Linked DNA regions of Homo sapiens: regions 1, 2 and 4 are each linked to region 3. The links are contacts of gene promoters, found by promoter capture Hi-C in human tissues and cell types (Jung and others, 2019). All regions are on one chromosome and are shown on one strand. Each heading gives the region's core, a stretch centred on a gene start or on the middle of the fragment in contact. The rest is flanking DNA. Distances are from core to core; before and after follow the strand shown. Region 1 overlaps PLEKHA5 (pleckstrin homology domain containing A5). Region 2 overlaps PLEKHA5 (pleckstrin homology domain containing A5). Region 3 holds the start of CAPZA3 (capping actin protein of muscle Z-line subunit alpha 3). Region 4 has its middle 240 kb from the start of AEBP2.

Evidence for each region. Contacts are between HindIII fragments. The study calls those that stand out against the background at their distance.
Region 1: a contact is called between a fragment that was not itself captured here and the fragment with the promoter of CAPZA3 in region 3, in 2 of the 25 tissues and cell types used here (heart right ventricle and thymus).
Region 2: a fragment that was not itself captured here is called in contact with the fragment with the promoter of CAPZA3 in region 3 in 3 of the 25 tissues and cell types used here (dorsolateral prefrontal cortex, mesendoderm cells and thymus).
Region 4: a contact is called between a fragment that was not itself captured here and the fragment with the promoter of CAPZA3 in region 3, in 1 of the 25 tissues and cell types used here (dorsolateral prefrontal cortex).

Annotation. Positions count from the first base shown.
Region 1 is chr12:19,290,409-19,293,751 of GRCh38, forward strand. It overlaps PLEKHA5 (pleckstrin homology domain containing A5), which reads left to right. Exons shown (of 32, transcript NM_001256470.2): 14 at 269-388; 15 at 1,236-1,289. Among named protein-coding and RNA genes, the nearest start is that of AEBP2, 150 kb to the right of the region's middle. The HindIII fragment of the contact is 4,219 bases long and covers 1-3,343 here.
Region 2 is chr12:19,253,363-19,256,857 of GRCh38, forward strand. It overlaps PLEKHA5 (pleckstrin homology domain containing A5), which reads left to right. Exons shown (of 32, transcript NM_001256470.2): 4 at 578-661; 5 at 1,683-1,803. Among named protein-coding and RNA genes, the nearest start is that of PLEKHA5, 130 kb to the left of the region's middle. The HindIII fragment of the contact is 4,359 bases long and covers 1-3,495 here.
Region 3 is chr12:18,736,269-18,739,438 of GRCh38, forward strand. CAPZA3 (capping actin protein of muscle Z-line subunit alpha 3) reads left to right here and starts at 1,851. Exons shown (of 1, transcript NM_033328.3): 1 at 1,851-2,920. The coding sequence starts at 2,001. The coding sequence ends at 2,900. PLCZ1 (phospholipase C zeta 1) reads right to left here and starts at 1,744. Exons shown (of 15, transcript NM_033123.4): 1 at 1,664-1,744; 2 at 1,093-1,241; 3 at 1-76. The coding sequence starts at 1,103. The HindIII fragment of the contact is 1,043 bases long and covers 1,264-2,306 here.
Region 4 is chr12:19,675,004-19,678,394 of GRCh38, forward strand. No RefSeq gene overlaps it. Among named protein-coding and RNA genes, the nearest start is that of AEBP2, 240 kb to the left of the region's middle. The HindIII fragment of the contact is 9,322 bases long and covers 1-3,391 here.

The DNA.
Region 1 (3,343 bases), core at 171-2,670, 550 kb after region 3:
GTACTTAACATTTAAATGTTCTCATGAGTTCTGAGAAAATGCCTTAATTTACTGTTGTTTTGCTGTATCTTTTAAAGTAACACTGTTCCTTCTATTTCTCTAGATATCTATGCATTTATGTAGGACCTATCATCATAGTGCCTAGGCACTATGTTTGATGTCAACCATAAGAGGAAACTTGCCAAGAAATCTTGGTTTAATATCTGTCACTTAAGACAACAATTAATCTGTTTTCCACTGTTTGGATTCTTAAATTGTACTCCTTCAGCCAGAGGAGCTTACGCTGCTGCTAATAAAGCTGAGACGGCAGCAAGCCGAACTGAGTAGTATCCGGGAGCATACGTTAGCACAGCTCATGCAGCTAAAGCTTGAGGCCCACAGCCCAAAGGTCAGCTATGGAGAGATTTGTCTGTGTCGTCTGCCATCATCTCTTATTTTGAAACACTCATCAGTCAATATGATCAGCATCATTAGTGTTGAGCATGAGCCCATACCATCATTATAGTGACAACATTAGAATCTCCTATTAACCCTTTGAGAATTCAACTTATTTATACATTACTGAAAGAAAATACAGGTAGGGTGCATTTCTTCTTAGCCTTCTACCCCACCCGCTCACCCACTGGCTTTTGGTTTTGAGGAAGGCAATGCGTACAATACTTCATGTACGCATTAACTTCATGTTGTTACTCACTGAATACTGTGACTTCCATATCTGGTAAAACAAATATTGAGAAGTCCTATAATTTCCAATAAAACAATAAATTAAAAATTCATTATAGCTTTAATAATACTGCCTTTTAAATGTTAAAAATTAATTTTAAAATGTCTTATTTTTAATGAAAAGAACGAACACATAACCGTTTCTCAAAGGGTTTATAGCTCTGGTTATATAAGAAAGATCTTATTTAAAGAAGTAGTACTATATTAGAGGAAATAATTGACATGTAAAAGTTCTAACAGTCAGTTTGCTAAAGCTATTTTAAGGAATTTTTCTGCTTAATAGTTCATTGTTCATATGCATGTCTACGTAATTTCTTACAAAACAAAATATAATTTTGTAATTTAATATGTCAGCGGTACCATTTACAGGGGAGCATGTGCGTGAAAGTTGTCGTGTACTGTGATATAATAGGTTGTAGTAAATTACCTGTTTTTCTTATTCCAAAATTGACCTTTTCTTGAATTCCACATCCTCTTTCTCTGTCCCTTTTTTCTTAATTGGTGCCTACTAGAATGAAATTCTTTCACATCATCTCCAAAGGAACACCATATATTTGGATCATCAGGTGGGATTCATAGAGATTTTCTTACTTTTAATACTTAATAGAACTTCTTAAATATAATACAGTTTTTCAGGCTTCTCAGCTATTTCAGTCACGTTGAATTAATAACATGACTTTTACAAGTGATAGAATATGAAATCTCTGACCAGGTGGATTCAGGAATTCCATAATAAACAGGGAGAAAGGACAGGTGTGGAGGTAAAGAGGGATACAAATGCTGGGTCACCTGAAATTGAGGGCCTAAATTCTCTAGACTTCGTTCTTCTTATCCCATTAAAACACCTACTCCTTGAGGCTTATCTCAGCTTGGAGCTGACCTAATTAAAGGAACAGACACCAAGCTGTGAATTGTCTTGTTGGAAGGCAAGAAGGAGGGTGAATGTAGTGTGCTCTGTATTCCTAAAGGGGAGTTTAAAGGTGGGTGAAGTTGGCTGGATGCAATGGCTCATGCCTGTAATCCCAGCACTTTGGGAGGCTGAGGCAGGCGGCTCACTGGAGGCCAGGAGTTCGAGACGAGGCTGGCCAACATGGAGAAACCCTGCCTCTACTAAAAATACAAAAATGAGCCGGGCGTCACAGTGAACGTCTGTAATCCCAGCAGCTTGGGAGGCTGAGGCATGAGAATTGCTTGAACCCGGGAGGTGGAGGTTGCAGTGAGCCGAGATCATGCACCACTGCACTCCAGCCTGGGCTACAGCGCAAGACTCTGTCTTAAAAATAAAGAAACAGAGAAAGAGAGAGAGGGAGGGAGTAAGGGAGGAAGGAAGATGGGTGAAGTGTGTAGTGGAGGTGATTTGCAGTTGCCTGTCCTTATTCCCTGTTTGCTGTGTACTTCCAATGTTTGGTCTTTGCCAACGTGTGTAGAGCCAGTTTTATAGGAGGCTCACATTCCTAGCATTACCTCAGTGGTGGCACCAGGTGTGCCTGGTTGAGGTGAATGTTCAAAAGTGAAAATGGCAATGGGCCGGGTGTGGTGGCTCCCGCCTGTAATCCCAGCACTTTGGGAGGCTGAGGCAGGTGGATCACCTAAGGTCAGGAATTTGAGACCAGCCCAGCCAACGTGGCGAAACACCGTCTCTACTAAAAATACAAAAACTAGCCGAGCATGGTGGTGTGCACCTGTAATCCCTGCTACTTGGGAGGCTGAGGCAGGAGAATCACTTGAGCCCTGGAGGCAGAGGTTGCAGTGAACCAAGATCACACCACTGCACTCCAGCTTGGGTAACAGAGCGAGACTCTATCTCAAAAAAAAAGAAAGTGGCATTTAACAAGGAGTGACTCAGTTTTTATAAAATGTTCTATTAATATTTAATTTTAATTTGTTGGGAATTTTTTGTTATTAGACATAATTTCTTTCATTGAATACATTTTTTTATATAAATCAAGCTAAAACTTATTCTAGCTTGTTTCAAAATGTCCAAACTTGACTATTTTATCAAATAAAGAGGTTACTGTAGAAAATAAGACAAATGCTTTCATATTTATATTTGCCTGTTTGAAACAAAACAGTAATGTGCTACTTTAAATTAGTTGTATTTAAAGAGGGATTTTGCATTAGGATAACCCTTTGAAAGGTGTTAAATCATTTTCCTTATTTTAATTTTTAAAAGTAACACACTTTTGTTAATATAAAATTTATATATTTTCCACAAAACATTTTCATCAGCATTTTGGCCATTGGAATACTTTAAAAATCAGCATTTCATGTATCCGAATTCCAGATCTTCAATCCAGAGATTGAGGCTATTGAAATTTAACCACAGTGTATATTATGCACTTTGTATATTATGCACTAGAAAAATGCATCTTCCTTCAAAATTCTACACTGCCAGAAAGCTGCTAAGATACATGGGAAATAAAAAACTCCTTTGTATTTAGAGCTGCAAATAGTCCTAAAAAATAGGTTTAAAAAACAATGATATAAACATGAATCTGAAGTTACCCCACATCTCTGAAAATAAACCTTGTGGTTTACTGTAATTTATTACTGACCTCATTGAATCAAAACTTGCAGAGACATAGAACTTCAGAAAATTTTAGAAAAGGACAGGTAAATA
Region 2 (3,495 bases), core at 788-3,287, 520 kb after region 3:
TGGCACCTGGCCTACAACTTAACCTTTGTTTATAAAATAATGAAAAAGGATTGAGGCCAGACTGAGAAGGGATGCATTTAACTTTTTTGTAAAAATATAAGTAACATTTACACACATATACACTCTCAATAGATAGTAGGAAAGATATATTTAGGAATCTCAAAAGGCTGGCGGCCAGGTGCCGTGTCTCATGCCTGTAATCCCAGCACTTTGTGAGGCCGAGGCGGGTGGATCACCTGAGGTCAGGAGTTCAAGACCAACCTGACCAACATGGTGAAATCCTGTCTCTACTAAAAATACAAAAAATTAACTGGGCGCGTGATGGTGGGCGCCTATAATCCAAGCTACTTGGGAGGCTGAGGCAGAAGAATTGCTTGAACCCAGAAGGCAGAGGTTGTAGTAAGCCGAGAATGCGCCATTGCACTCCAACCTGGGCGACAAGAATAAAACTCCGTCTCAAAAACAAAAAAAAAGGCTGGAAGTTTGAATTTCATTTCCTTTGTAGACTAATGTTACAATAAATAAATGGGAATTTTAAATACCTGCATGTTCTGTTTTTCTTTTTTCCTTTTTTCAGCCATAATGAAAGGAAAGTGACCTGCAAACATCCAGTCACAGGACAACCATCACAGGACAATTGTATTTTTGTAGTGAATGAACAGTAAGTAAAGAGTTTCATGGAATGCCTGTATTCAAAATTGGGTTAGCATTGAAATTGCTGTTATTTATATTTCAATTTAGCAGTTTTCTTATCTGGACATTTGTAGTCAAGTATAATAACAGAATGCCAGCTGTTCACAATGTGTCATATAGAAACCTGAGTTAAACATTTTTTTCATGAAGAATGTAATTTCAGAAGCTGTTTTTATAGTACTTCAAACGCAGTAAGCTCAAGAACCCGGGATGCAAGCTTAGAGAAACTGTGTAAATGGTTAGATTATTAAACTAATTTGAGCTCACTTTTCTCATCCTTAAATCAGATAGTGGTAATTACTATTTCACAAGAGTTTTATAAGCATCAAAGAATGTATTATACTATAAAGCTATTCACAGAGTTAGTTACTGAAATTGTTATTGTTTTTAAAATTAGAATAATCTCATAATTCATTTTTAATTTTTCAGTTGGGTGACCAAGTAGAATATCTGCAATAATGCCTATTATAAATAAACATGATAGGCCGGGCACAGTGGCTCACGCCTGTAATCCTAGCACTTTGGGAGGCCAAGGTGGGCGAATCACTTGAGGTCAGGCATTCAAGACCAGCCTGGCCAACATGGTGAAACCCTGACTGTACTAAAAAAATAGAAAAATTAGCCGGGCATGGTGGAACGTGCTGGTAGTCCCAGCTACTGAGGAGTCTGAGGCAGGAAAATCACTTGAACCTGGGAGGCAGATTCTACAGTGAACCAAGATTACGCCACTGCACTGTAGCCTGAGCAACAGAGTGAGACTCTTGTCTTAAAAACTAATAATAAATAAACATGATAATAATGTATTTTTGGCTTAGGAAAAGCGTTAGCTGTATTTAAAGTTGTTGTAAGTATTAAGGCCTGACTCTAGAGTAACTAGGATCCAAGTACTGTGAAAAAGTAGGACACTCGCATTGTTAACTGTAGAGAAGTGTAATTATAAAGCGGGTTACATACACAGCAAGTTCTAGCATTTTGACATATATTTTCAGGACTGTTGCAACCATGACATCTGAAGAAAAGAAGGAACGGCCAATAAGTATGATAAATGAAGCTTCTAACTATAACGTGACTTCAGATTATGCAGTGCATCCAATGAGCCCTGTAGGCAGAGTAAGTTATTTTGCTTTATATTAATTATTGATAAGGAGTAAACAGTATCTATACCGTTACTCATAATGGACTTAAAAGTATAGAATAATAATTACATTTTTATTATTACATGAATTTGAAGGTAATTGATATAAGAAGCAACAGCCCGAAATACAAAGTAATAAGATTGTAATTCAGTGACTTAAATTTTTAAATTTGGAATAATTTTAGAAATACATTGATATTTGTGAGAGAGAATGGGTACACTTAAGTTTTAAAGGTGATTATTCATGTAATAGCCTAGAAATCAAATTATCTGACTATAAGAATGCTTAGATGGAGAAAACATTTTTCAGCAAAACCATTGTAATAGTATATTATGTTTATTGTAAGGAAATAGATAATTATAAGATAATTATAATAATAGTATTTTAAATGCCAGTTAAGGTTTTTGAAATAAAATTTTGTTAGGAGATTATAAATGAATGTAAATTTTCAAGTAATATAAATAATTTCTGATTATTAAGTAAAATAAATCCAACAGGCTAACTGAGCATAATGCTTTATGAGTATATTTTAATTAAAATCTGGAGAAATTGATGAATGGATTGAGAGCCACTAGGTCATTGTCTTGAAAGAAAGTTGAATCTGTTCCTCATACTTTACACCAGAAATTTTCTAGATGGATCAGTTGTTGAAATGTTAAAAACAAAACTAAGAAAAAAACAATGGAAGATTTGAAAAAAAAAAAAAAAGAAAAGCTCAGAATGCAGATGGGCTTTCTAAATATGACATAAAACTCAGAAGTAACAATATAAAATAATGAGAAATTCAACCACACGTAATTATTATCCATGCAGAGTATCTGTAATTCATATAACAATTAAAGAATAATTTCCTTATAATTAAAGAAGTGCTGTGAATCAATAAGAAAAGGGCTTATGAGCCAGTTTGGAAATGGAAAAATTATATGAAATCAGTTTTCGGGAAAGAAAATGGAATTTACTCTTAAATATATGAAAAAAGATTCTCAGCCTCATCCATAATATGAAAAATACTAATTAAAACCAGAAAAAGACACCATTTCCACCTGCAGATTTCCAAAGATCAGAAAGTTTCATAACACAGCACACTAACAACAGTATGGGTAAATAGGCATTCGGTTTATATAGTGAGCTCCAAGAAATAATGGAACAGAAGAGTGGATATTAAAATATGCAGTCATTTCAGAAAAATACTCATTAATCATGAGAACAATTATTTTAGATAGATAGGCACACACATACAGTGATATTGGTTGCCACACAGTTGTGAGTGGGGCTAGCTGGGTGCTGGAGCCCAAGAGTGAGTAGATTGATCTTTGTGTATCTTTTTGTGTCGTTTGAGTTTTATACTGTTTTTAAGCATTACCTGTTTGAAAGTAAATTAAAATCTATCAAGAAAACATGCTTTAGGAAAAATTTTGTTGATATTGGGCCTTAAAATTTTCTTATATACTAATAAAAGCTTCCCAAAACAAAATTCTAAAGAAGTATGCTGGATTTCCAAAGATTCTGAACAAGTAGAAAAGTAAGAGATAATTTTATGTTACTTTATAGCTTCATTGTTTTCATCTTTGTTGGTCACCATTATGATTCCTGCCAAAATAAATCTTCATGGTAACCATAGCAGTATTTTTAAAGACTGTATATCCTTATGTGTATTTTGAAGAAT
Region 3 (3,170 bases), core at 601-3,100:
TTCAAGTAACCTCTGAGTTTTTTCTAGGTTAATTTTTCCACCTCTGAAGTCATCCTGAATCTTTGACAAAAACCATGTAGAAGCACAAAAAAGTTAAGGAAATTCTCACAGAAAGTCATTGAATATTTAAAATTCCTAAAGAAACATTTGATTTACTGTATTATTTTTATTTTTAAAGAATATGTTTAAAGTAAATTATAGTATAATTGTATGATAAATATTTTTTAAAAAACAAAATTAAGTAGTTACTATGCTATGGTAAAGGTATGAAAGGGCATAGCACAGTAAAAATACAAAAAAAAGAATTAAAGTTAAAATTTGAGAATTGAAGTCATTACTTAGAACATACATTAAAACATTATAACAATCTATTGCCTGAAGGCATGAAGTTGGAAGGCAGCTAGACTTCAAGATCGCCTCTCACCTGACCTCTCTGTTTTAGTTCTCTCTTCCAGAAAGGTGAGCAAATTAACCCTGAATCTTAAGGAAAGTGGAAGCATTAGATGAATTCCTAATATGCCACCGAACACAGTTTCTGCTACTTAGTGTTCAATAAATAGTAACCATGACTGATAAAGTTATTATTACTACATTAGTCCAATGCCCAGCTACACACACACTCAAGACAGTACCATCAAAAAGCATCAGAAATACCATGGTGAGTGTATATTTGGTATGAAAAACGAAAAAAATTTTTAAAAGCTTACTTATCATAGATAAACTACAAAAACTAGGACACTTCCATTTGAAAAACTAAGATCGAAATGAGATAATGACAATTATCACTAAAATTATAAAAGGTATAGGTAAAAATTGTGCAAAACTACTAAGTTTCAGATTGTTAGAACGAATTAATGAGATCTCCTTAAATTTAATAGTTATGACTTAATCCAGCAAAGCTCATGTTCTTGTAAGAAAAAGATACCAGAATGCAGGGAAAGTTAGAAAAGCTCAGAACAAACAGGGAAAAGCAGTTCAACTTAAATGAAGAGGACTTAAATTCAGAACTCCTCGAAAAGAATAACAGCATCAAGTAAAGAGGATAAGTAGGAGAAAGAAGAAGAGGAGCAGAAAGAAGCTCTCAATGGATATCTCATTTCCATAGTTTCATGACCTGTAGAGCCGTTTCTCCTCACTTAGAAGTCTTTCCCCAGTAGGTGCTGTCATGGGTTCCAAATACAATTAACTCTGCCCCTTTGCAGAAAATAATTTCTTGATACTCATCAGCTGTTACCACTTTTCTAGGGAGAAAGCAGAGAACACACAGTGGTTTTTTTTGCCTTCGTTCTTTGAAGCTAGCTCACACTTAACCATAGAAACAGTATGCAAGATGTGGTACCTGCACTACCCTGCCCTTGAAACTGTTTGGCTTCTTACGTTCTGACCACCTCCAAACCCACAATATTTGAAAACACAGCTTTCCCTGATGTCTGGCATTTTTCCATGAACTGCCATTGTATCTCCTTTTATTTTTTACTACTTTGTTTAAACCCCTCAAACCTTTCATCATAATATGCTTCCAGTGGGTTTGGGCAGCTACTCTGAGAGCCTGAGTATAAATCAACACCATTGTGATTCCTGAAGTTGCAAAGTGCTGTCACTCTTGAAACTTTGGGCTGCTTCTCTAGATCGTTGACAACATATAATGCACACAGAGACACACCACTTTCGAAGAAGACTGTTCAGGAGGCTAAGTTCTTAAAATCTTCAAAAGAGGTATAGCTGGTTGGCTGGGCACCACACTGTCAGGTGACTGTCATTTTTTCCTTTTGGTCTGAATTCCCATTGTGATATCATCAGAGGTTCCACACTTCACAAGGAAAGCTTCTTATGACCTCATCAGGAGGCTCAGACCTTGCCAGACTGCCTGCTTTCATGGATAGACATAAAAACCTTCAGCTTGAATGTTAACACCTTGATGGGAAAGGTGGCTCATGGAATGTTTTCTTATCCTTTGAACACTCCTCATTTCAGAAGCTTTGCTTCTGTTGCAACCAAACATGACACTTAGCGTGCTGAGCAGGAAGGACAAGGAAAGAGTAATTCGCAGACTGTTATTACAGGCCCCTCCAGGGGAATTTGTAAATGCCTTTGATGATCTCTGTCTGCTTATCCGTGATGAAAAACTTATGCACCACCAAGGTGAGTGTGCAGGCCACCAACACTGCCAAAAATATTCTGTACCACTCTGCATCGATGGAAATCCAGTACTCTTGTCTCACCACAATGTAATGGGCGACTACCGATTTTTTGACCATCAAAGCAAACTTTCTTTCAAATATGACCTGCTTCAAAATCAGCTGAAAGACATCCAAAGTCATGGTATCATTCAGAATGAGGCAGAATACCTGAGAGTTGTTCTTCTGTGCGCCTTAAAACTGTATGTGAATGACCACTATCCAAAAGGAAATTGCAACATGCTGAGAAAAACTGTCAAAAGTAAGGAGTACTTGATAGCTTGCATTGAAGATCACAACTATGAAACAGGAGAGTGCTGGAACGGACTTTGGAAATCTAAATGGATTTTCCAAGTTAACCCATTTCTAACCCAAGTAACGGGAAGAATATTTGTGCAAGCTCACTTCTTCAGGTGTGTCAACCTTCATATTGAAATATCCAAGGACCTGAAAGAAAGCTTGGAAATAGTTAACCAAGCTCAACTGGCTCTAAGTTTTGCAAGGCTTGTGGAAGAGCAAGAGAACAAATTTCAAGCTGCAGTCTTGGAAGAATTACAGGAGTTATCCAATGAAGCCCTGAGAAAAATTCTACGAAGGGATCTTCCAGTGACCCGCACTCTTATTGACTGGCACAGGATACTCTCTGACTTGAATCTGGTGATGTATCCTAAATTAGGATATGTCATTTATTCAAGAAGTGTGTTGTGCAACTGGATAATATAAAGAATTGCTCCTGGTAACTATCTTGATTTGACTTGTTTGTGTTTCTTGGGAATGGTTATTTTCCTAAAATTGAGCAATCTGTAGAGATGTCTCTCACTTAGCCAATGCAAATTTAAATGGGAAAAGTGTAGCAAGTAATTTTACTTGGGGAATATTTATGAACAAGGCAAGAAAGTGTAAAGTAACTGTGTTTCATGGTGGTGACCATCATAAAGACCAAGACATTTGTTAGAAACTAAAATAGTTTTATAGAATCTGGGATTCCAGAAA
Region 4 (3,391 bases), core at 146-2,645, 940 kb after region 3:
GCAACAAAAATAGTTATACATATTTTTGGGGTACCTGTGATATTTTGATACATGTATACAATGTGTAACAATCAGGGTAACTGGGATATCCATCACCTCAAACATTTATCTTTTCTTTGTGTCGGGAATATTATAATTATCTTCTAGCTATTTTGATATGTACAATAAATTATTCTTAATTGTAATTTCCCTACTGTACTATTGAATGTTAGAACTTATTCCTACTATTTAACTGCACTTTTGTACCTATTAACTAACTTCTTTTTATGCCCCCTTCTCCCTTCCCTTCCCAGCCCCTGGTAACCAGCATTCTATCCTCTACTGCCATGGGATCCACTTTTTTAGCTCCCACAGATGAATGAGAACATGTGATATTTGACTTTCTGTGCGCCAAGAAGCTCAGTTTTTTAGCTTTCACATATAGATAGATCTACAGTATATCTGGAACTGGTATTTGCATATGAGGTGAGGCAGAAGCTCAAGATTCACATTTTCCCCTGTGGTTACCCAACTGATTCATATCCAGTTGACCCAGCAACACTGACTAAAAAGAATATCCTTTTCCTAACTAATCGTGTGTTACTTTAATCATACATCAAGTGGACTCTTTTCTTTTCCATTGACTAATATCTATCCTTTCACTAATTCTCTTAATTACTGCAGCAATGTAATAAGTCTTGATACCTGAAAGTGAAAGACTAACTGTTCTTTGTATTACTATACAAATATTTGAACCAGCTTGTTAAATTTATTAAACAAAATTTAGCTGGGATTTGGACTGGGATTGCACTGAATTTATAGATCAATTTGGGAGAAAATGATAATTTTACAATATTGAGTCTTCTAATTTATGAATATAATATCTCTCTCCCAATAATTTTAGTTATTTTTTATTTTATTTATTTTATTTTTGGGGACAGGGTCTTGCACTGTCACCCAGGTTGGAGTACAGTGGCACAATCATCTCTCACTGCAATCTTAACCTCCTGGGCTCAATCAATTCTCCTACCTCAGCCTTCCAAGTAGCTAGGACTACAAACGTGTGCCAGTAGGCATGGCTAATTTTTGTTTGTTTGTTTGTTTGTTTTGGAGAGATGGGGTTTCGCTATGTTGCCCAGGCTGTTCTCAAACTCCTGGTCTCTAGCAATCTGTTCACCTTGGCCTCCCAAAGTGCTGGGATTATAGGCATGAGCCACCATGCCCAGCCAACATTTTGTATTTTTTTGGAGTAGAGATGTTACACTTCACTCATTAGATTTATTTCTAAGTACTTGATGATTTATTCCAGAATAAATTATTTATTTATTCATTTTTGTGATAAAGTGACTTGTATTTAGTAAAATTCTCATGAATGCGCTATCAAGTTCCATATAGCAGTACGGTTACCCAGCCAATTCTGGAATGCAGAAAAACTTGGAGTATGTCAGTTGTGTCTTTTCCCAATCTTCTGTTTTTACAACAGAAGCAGAAGAGGAGGGATTGTAGGGTAATCTTCTTTATTTTTATATTTATTTTTCCATAGGTTATTGGGGTACAGGTTGTATTCGGTTACATGAATAAGTTCTTTAGTGGAGCTTTGTGAGATTTTGGTGCACCCATCACCCGAGCAGTGTACACCGTATCCTATTTGTAGTCTTTTATCCCTCGCCCTGCTCCCACCGTTCCCTTCAAGTCCCCAAAGTCCATTGTATCATTCTATGCCTTTGCGTCCTCATAGCTTAGCTCCCACATATCAGTGAGAACATACGGTGTTTGATTTTCCATTCCTGAATTACTTCACTTAGAATAATAGTCTCCAGTCTCAACCAGGTCACTGCAAATGCTGTGAATTCTTTCCTTTTTATGGCTGAGTAGTATTCCATCATTCTTCTACATGTGGCTAGCCATTTGTTGAAAAGGGTGTCCTTTCCCCACTTTATGTTTTTGTTTGTTTTGTCGAAGATCAGTTGGCTGTAAGTATTTGGGTTTATTTTTGGGTTCTCTATTCTGTTCCATTGGTCTATGTGCCTATTTTAATATTAGTACCACACTGTTTTGGTGACTATAGCCTTATAGCATAGTGTGAAATCAGGTAGTGTGATGCCTTCAGATTTGTTCTTTTTGCTTAGTCTTGCTTTGGCTATGCAGGCTCTTTTTTGGTTTCATATGACTTTTAGAATTGTTGTTTCTAATTCTGTGAAGTATAATGGTGGTATTTTGATGGGGATTGTGTTGAATTTGTGGATTGCTTTTGGCAGTATGGTCATTTTCACAATATTGATTCTACCCATTCATGAGCATGGGATGTGTTTCCATTTGTTTGTGTCATCTATGATTTCTTTCAGCAGTGTTTTGTAGTTTTCCTCATAGTGGTCTTTTGCCTCCTTGGTTAGGTATATTCCTAAGTATTTTATTTTATTTTTTGCAGCTATTGTAAAAGGAGTTGAGTTCTTGATTTGACTCTCCACTTGGTCGCTGTTGGTGTATAGAAGAGCTATTGATTTGTGTACATTAATCTTGCATCTGGAAACTTTGCTGAATTCTTTGATTTGTTCTAGGAACTTTCCAGAGGAGTCCTTAGGGCTTTCAAGGTAAACGATCATATCACCAGCAAACAGTGACAATTTGACTTCCTCTTTACCAGTTTGGATGCCCTTTATTTCTTTCTCTTGTCTGATTGCTCTGGCTAGGACTTCTAGTACTATGTTGAAGAGGAGTGGTGAGAGTGGGCATCCTTGTCTTGTTCCGGTTCTCTGAGGGAATGCTTTCAACTTTTCCCCATTCAGTATTATGTGGCTGTGGGTTTGTCATAGATGGCTTTTATTACATTGAGGTATGTCCCTTGTATGCCAATTTTGCTGCGAGTTTTAATCATAAAGGAATGCTGGATTTTGTCAAATGCTTTTTTTGCATCTTTAAGATGATCGTGTGATTTTTGTTTTTAATTCTGTTTATGTGGTGTATCACATTTATTGACTTGTGTATGTTAAACCATCCCTGCATCCGTGGTATGAAACCCACTTGATCATGGTGCATTATCTTTTCGACATGTTATTGGATTAGTTAGCTAGTATTTTGTGAAGGATTTTAGCATCTATGTTCATCAGGGACATCAGTCTGTAGTTTTCTTTTTTGGTTATGTCCTTTCCTGGTTTTGGTATTAGGGTAATGCTGGCTTCATATAATGAAATAGGGAGAGTTCCCTCTTTCTCTATCTTGTGGAATAGTGTCAAAAGGATTGGAACCAATTCTTCTTTGAATGTCTGGTAGAATTCTGCTGTGAATCCATCTGGTCCCGAACTTTTTTTTGTTGGTAATTTTTTAATTACCATTTCAATCTCACTGCTTGTTATTGGTCTGCTCAGGGTATCTAATTCTTCCTGATTTAAGGTAGGAGGGTTGTATTTTTCCA